2 separate regions of the Homo sapiens genome follow, and region 1 is linked to region 2. Evidence: promoter capture Hi-C in 16 types of primary human blood cells and fetal thymus (Javierre and others, 2016). All regions are on one chromosome and are shown on one strand. Each heading gives the region's core, a stretch centred on a gene start or on the middle of the fragment in contact. The rest is flanking DNA. Distances are from core to core; before and after follow the strand shown. Region 1 has its middle 3.0 kb from the start of RPS19BP1. Region 2 holds the start of MRTFA (myocardin related transcription factor A).

Region 1 (3,406 bases), core at 904-3,403, 1.1 Mb before region 2:
ACGTGCTTTACATTTGTTAACTTGTTTATCCCCCCTACCCTTCCAGGTAGGAATTGTCTTTTGCATTTTACAGACGAGGAAACAAACACAGAGAGGCGAAGGTCACACGGGTGGAGTCAGGGGTGGGAGTTAAGACTGGCAGCCTGGCCGCAGGATTTGTGGGGGCGCTCCTGTCCCAGCCACCAGGGAGAGCAGTGCTGTGGTGCTGGGTGGGGCCTGTCAAGCCATGGGGTCAGGTAGGCCCCTGGAGGGTGAGGAGGAGCTGACCATGTATGGGCAGCGGGGATTGTTCTAGGCGGAGACCGCTGTAGCGAGGACCTATCCCCTGTGACACACGAGTGGCCCTTCAGGATGCCATGCTGGGCTGGAGGGTCGCAAAGGCCTCAGACTCCATGATTTTGTCCTAAGGGGAGTGTGGGGCCTGGAACCCAGTGACTGTTCAGACATATGCCTCCTTCCTGCTTCTAACATAGCCGGATTGTTGTCTTACTTATTATGTGTATTGCGTATTGTCTGTTTCCCCGCCCATACCCCACTGTAAGCTCCGCAAGGCAGGGATCTTTGTTTTGTTCATTGTTATATCCCTAGCGCCTGGAACAGTGCTTGGCATACGGTAAGAGTTCAGAAACGCACGAAATGAGTGGATGAGAGCTGAGTTTGGGACGCCAGTGAGCCGCTGGGTTGAGGCCCAGGAGGTCGTGGGATGTGCAGCGAGTCAGCCTCTCAGGAGGGCAAAGGACCAAGCTCTGTCCTCCTCCCGATCTAGGCTGAATCAGCCCACGGTCCCCCGGGTGGAGGAGTTTTCTGCCAACGTGCCAGGTGGACCCCTGCAGCGTCCGCAGCCCAGCCGGGCACGGGCGGGACGGCAGGCCAGGCGCTGCCCCAGCCTCCCGCGGAGTTATCAGCACATCCGCGGGGCCGGGCGCATTTCTGCCAATAGGTGGCGCCGCAGGACAGCTTTCTCACGCGGCGAGACTCCAAGGCCTCAGCTGCGCCCACCCGGGCTAGGTGGGGGTGGGGGTCCGGACGTCCTTCTGCCTCGGCTGGCTCCTTGCAGCCAGCACCGTGTGGCCCCGGCTTCCTGCTGTCCCGCACCCCCTCCCACTCTCACCCTGGCCTGGAGGAGTGGCTGGGGAAGCTGAGGCAGAGCCACCAGGCTGGGCTGCCCAGGGCGGGGGGCGAGGTCCCTTCCTGAAAAGTGTGCAAATGACAGCTGGGAGCTGTGTGACCCCAGCAATCCCTTAACAAAGAGTGCCTCAGTTTCCTCATTGGTTGGATGGGGCTTGGCAGGGCAGCATCCCCCTTCTAGGAGAGGTGTGAGAACCGGTGGATCAATACCGTGCCGTGTGGGCCGGGCCTGGGTGGGTCTGCGCCCAGGGACTGCGTGTAGAGGGTGCTACAGCGCTGCCATGCTACCTGCTCCCTCTGGGCAAGACGGGATGGGCAGGGGCAGCCACTGTTGGGCCCAAGCAGATCACCCCACAGCCCGCATTTGGGCACCTGCGACCTGCCAGTCTTGACGTTGGCCCTGATGGGTCAAGCTGGGGGAGGGGGAGGGGGGTTGGGCAGCTGCTTCCTGTCTCCCTGTGGGAGGGCGGGTCATGAGGTCTCCCAGGCTAGTTCCCCACCTGGCATGACCCTGGATGAGCGGCTTCACTGCTCTGAGCCTGTTTCCACACTGGGTCCCTGCCTGCCCCTGATCCCCGCACTGAGGCTTTTGGCCACACAGAGGAACCATCGCCATAAAGGGCCCTTCGGCCCCCATGCCCTATGTCTCCTCCCAGGCTCCGTGAAACAGCTTAACTACCCTGGGCCTGGGAGGCTGAGAGGCAGGTGGCTTTCTGCAGGGCTGTGCAGCCCTTCAAGAACAGAGTCAGGACTCAAGCCCAGGTCTCCGGGTCCTAAGCAAGAGTATGTGTGTGGCCCCCAGGGACCAGTGGCCCCCTGGAGAGGGGACCGTAGGGTCTCTGGGAGGTGAGCAGTTCTGGAGAGGGTGTCCTGGTGGTCTGGGGCTGGCACAGATGCCCCGGTTTCCACAAGGCCTCGGCTCACACAGCTGTGTGTCCACAGGCAAGCCGCCCTCCCTCCCCTAGCCCATTTCCTCTTCCGAGGTTTTGGGGGCTTTAGAGAGTATTGTCCAGTCCTCCATACAGGGCCGAGGCGGGAGGCGCCCGGAGCTCCTGGCTCCTGTGGTATGAAGGGAGCACTTGCTCCAGAGCCAGGCTGTACATCCTGGCTTTTCCACTTACTAGCTGTGTGACTTTGGGCAAGTCCCACAACCTCTCTGTGCCTCGGTTTCTTCGTTTATGAGTTGACTATGATAATAATCCCTACCTCATAAGGCTGCTGTGAGGATCGAGGGTTGAGCATTTGGAATTCCGTTGGACGCAGAATAAGCACTCTAGTTTGTGAATCAGTGATTGCTCTGTGGACAGCAGTGTGCCGGTGGGACCTGGGCCCCCATCTGTGGGTGTGACCTGCACTTGTATGTCGCCTCTGGATTTCCACACTCTTGTGCTCACACACGGTTAGGTTGGAGGCCACAGGGAGTAACACCTGACAGCCTGGAGTCGCTGATTCCCGTTCAGACGCCGCCTTTGCCGCTTAGCAGATGTGTGACCTGGGCACCTACCTCACCTTTCTGAGCTTCGAGGGGGCGCTTGGGGTCTGTTGGAGGTGCAGTGAGGTGGCATGAAATGTGCTCAGCACCAGGCCTGGCATTTATTCATCTGTGCAGTCAATAAATACCTGCTGATACCACTGACGGAGCAGCCAATAGGAGAAAAACCAGCCAGCATTTGCTGAGCGTGAACCAGGAGCTGCTCCACGTGCAGGAGGCGGGCATTGGGGTGAATGAAGGGCTCCGTTGGGCCTGGCGGTGCCCACATGCTCGTGTTACACTCTCAGCAAGTGTGAGTCTCTGTCGTCCAGGGTCTGCAGGGTTCAGGGTGGCACCCACCAGTCCCAGGGACAGCAGCCCCCTCAGGGCATCCAGGCAGAGGCCAAGTGGCTTCTTTCCAATCATGTGAATGGTGAAATAGTGGCATGCCTGATTTTAAGGGTATAATGAAGACACAGAAGAAGCTACTGGAAATTATCCATGGAGATATGGGGTCAGCCAGTAACCCCCGGGTGGGGGTCAAAGGTGGGGTCTTTTTAATGTCTCCACCCTGACCAGCCAAAGATGCGGCTCTGCCATTAAGCTACTGTGTGAAGTTTTTTTTTTTTGTTTTTTTTTGTTTTTATTTTTTTTTTTTTGGAGAGCAAGTCTTGCTCTGTCCCCCAGGCTGCAGGGCAGTGGCGCGATCTTGGCTCACTACAACCTCCTTCTCCTGGGTTCAAGCGATTCTTCTGTCTCAGCCTCCCGAGTAGCTAGGATTACAGAGGCCCGCCGGTGTGCCTGGCT
Region 2 (3,063 bases), core at 38-2,537:
TTATGAGTTTAAAACTATGTAAAAACATACGAAGCATGGGGTAATTCCATTATTATATTTAAGTGATGTATTCCACATTCCTGTATATACACACACTTCATGCCAAACAGAGGCTGGCAAGCAAGTTAACCATTCAACTGCCCTTTCGTTATGCTGCATAACAGGGAGACAACAGAGAGAAATCTTGACAATGCCAAGCTGGGCTAGTGCTTAAAGGCACACAGGCAAACCAGGCATTCTCAACATCCCAAAAGCAAACATTTCTTGGGCCCTTACTATGGGCCAAGCACTGTGTCAAACGCTTCACGTGAATTATTTCATTCGACACTTACAACAAACAACCGTATGCGATTGGTGCTATTATCCTCATTTTTCAGACGAGGAAACCAAGGCACAAGATTACACAGCTAGCAAGTGGCAGGTTTGGGAGTCGACTCAAAAGGTCCAGCCCTAGGCACTATGGAGTATCAAAGGTACCCGAAGCGGGGAGGGTGGACTGCATCAGCGTCCTGACAGACGCTTTCTTAGGAGGTAAAGTTCTTGGCCATCAAGTTTCAGATTTGCAGAGCCCTGTACACCTGGCAGCATTCAGGTTTGCTATACTGGCACCAACAAGTCCAGCTGAGCCTCCTTGCCTGGGAATCCCAAGGACTGCACTTGGATCCTGAAGGTCTGCACAAGACCCCAGAGAAAGCGGCCGACACCCCGTCCCTGCAATCAAAACACATCCCGGGAGAAGCGAGGGCGAGGACCTCCGTGCCTCCCCGCCCCGCGCAGCACAGCCCTGCCAGGCAGTGCACAGGTGCACGACCGCGCCCGCCCGCCCGGCCCGGCCCGGGTCCCAGCCCCGGCACAGTGACCGCCGCTCTGCGACTCCGGCCCCGAGGGCAGGGGCAGAAGGCCGGCAAGAAGAGGGCAGGGGACGCGAGGGCCGCCTCGCCCGACCCCCCGAGGACGCGCGCAGCAGGGTCGGGGGGGAAAAAGGATGCTCCAGGCGGGGCGAGGCCGCGGTGGGGGAGGGGTCCCCAACCCGGACTCTCACTCACCGCCTCGCGCGGCTCCCGGCCGGGTTCCGCGGCTCGCCCCACTCCGGCTCTAGCCGCCCGCGTCTCCTCTCGAGGCTCACTGTCCAGCCCGGGCGCACGGAGCTGAGAAGTCGCCGCCAGCGGAGGGCGTGTGGCCAGCGGCAACCAAGAGGGTGGGAAAGATGGGACCGTCGCTCTCGCCGCCGCGGCCACCACAGACACTGCCGCCGCCGGCTCCTCTCAGCCACGGAAGCTGCGGGCCCGCCCACCACGCCCGCCTCCCGTCCTGAAGACTGTCCGCTGGAGAAGTGACGGCGGCGCTAGCCAATCAGAGGCCTGATCGGGGTCGTGATCGGCGGACTAAAGGGCGGGCGGAGAAGGAAGCGGCATGAAGAAGGCGAAAACGGCGGCCTGACTTCCTGTGACTGACGGCACGGCGCAGCCAATGGGCAACGGGGAGATGACCTCATCTCTGAGGAAAGTCTGGAACTGGCTGAGCTGCGGCGAGGGGGTTGGCGACGAGCCGGGGGCGGAGCTCTGGGCCTTAAAGAGGCCGCAGCCCTGTGGTCACCCTGTGAAGGGAAGGGCGGTGGACCCTGCCGGATCTTGCGAAGTTGCCAAGGGGTCAATGCCCAGGCGCGAGTAATTACTGCATTAATCCCAGACCCCATCCCGATTCTTGTCGGGGACTGAAGGGTCTCCGCCTGGGGCTCCGAAGTCGATCATTTCACATTCACGCTTCCCAAAACGAGACACAATAAATTCCGCTCTGGCCTGGAGCCTTGAATTCCCGTTACGGTCCCGCCCCGCCGAGGCCCGTCGCCTTGTTTCTCTGAGTCAGTTTCCCCAACGGTGAAAGGGAGGACGCTGACACCTGCCTGCCCCTCCCTATCTGCCGAGGCCGTGGAGATCAGCAGCAGCGAAAGCGCTCTGGGCTTAGAAGAGGAAAAGGGCTGCGTGAGCCCAAGAGCTTGCATCGGAAGGCTCCAGGAAGAGCATCTGCAAAAAAGAGGATTCCACGGGATGACCCCCGACAACTCTTGGAATTCTAAAATCCTATACCCTTGCCCGCACCCATTCGTGTAGTGAAGGGGCGCGCGTTAGGCGCAGAGGCCACACGCTCCGCAAGTGAACCCGGGCACCTCTCTGAACCTATTCCGGGCTGAGGGCGGGGAGCGGGTGGCTGCCCGATTTAAAAACATGTATATGTATGTGTATGTGTATGTGTATGTGTATGTGTATGTGTATGTGTATATGTATATGTATATGTATATGTATATGTATATGTATATGTATTATGAGTGAAGTCCATGACTGCAACAGGGAGAAAGGAGAAAGGCGAAAGGGGAGAGAGCAACAAGGTAAGCCAGGCCCACTGTGATGACAGCTGCGGTCATGCAGGCCCTTCGTATCCGCCTTCCTCCCCAGCAATGGGAGAGAGCCCAGAAAAGGAGAAATAACCCCAACTCGATGGGGTGGAAAAGGGGGAAGCGCTTTCCGGAAGGCTTCCGGGATGGGGTCACCAGAGTCAGAGGAAGGAGTAACAGTAGATAGAAGAAGAAGTGGTCAGGGGCGTTCTTCTAGGTTTGGGGCGGACCCGCGTGAAGATGCAAAGACTGAAAAGGGGCGGCTCACTTTACATTCCAAGGTAAATTCTCACTATGACCCCCTTTTCCCCATCAAAGGCTTCTGGGACTGCCCATGGGTGAACTCAGAGGGAGGGTAGGAGAGGGTGCTGCTCTATCCAATGGCGGCAAAAGTCAAAGTGGCCTTGGGTATTCCCAATTACTCACTATAAATCAGCTTCCAATGCCGGTCGCAGAATCTTGGAGTTAGACGGGATCCTCGTGGGCTCTTAGTCACACACACCTTCCCCAAGGCAAAAATTCTTGCACAAAATACCTGATAAAATTATTTATTCGATAAATATTTTTTGAGTAAGAACACTGAGGGGGTAAGCTAGATGAGATACAGTCACTACCCTGGGGGTGCTTACACCAAACTGGAGGATGCTAAGGCACGTACTGCGGTGACTGCA

What was found. The method cuts DNA at HindIII sites, captures the fragments that hold promoters and counts their contacts. A CHiCAGO score of 5 or more calls a contact.
Region 1: a fragment that was not itself captured here is called in contact with the fragment with the promoter of MRTFA in region 2 in 1 of 17 cell types (neutrophils); the score reaches 15.5 in neutrophils.

What each region holds. Positions count from the first base shown.
Region 1 is chr22:39,534,019-39,537,424 of GRCh38, forward strand. No RefSeq gene overlaps it. Among named protein-coding and RNA genes, the nearest start is that of RPS19BP1, 3.0 kb to the left of the region's middle. RefSeq lists silencers at 726-1,020, 886-935, 996-1,085. The HindIII fragment of the contact is 4,950 bases long and covers 1-3,406 here.
Region 2 is chr22:40,635,432-40,638,494 of GRCh38, forward strand. MRTFA (myocardin related transcription factor A) reads right to left here and starts at 1,288. Exons shown (of 15, transcript NM_020831.6): 1 at 1,047-1,288. RefSeq lists a silencer at 743-1,052 and enhancers at 1,313-1,622, 2,362-3,063. The HindIII fragment of the contact is 6,464 bases long and covers 1-3,063 here.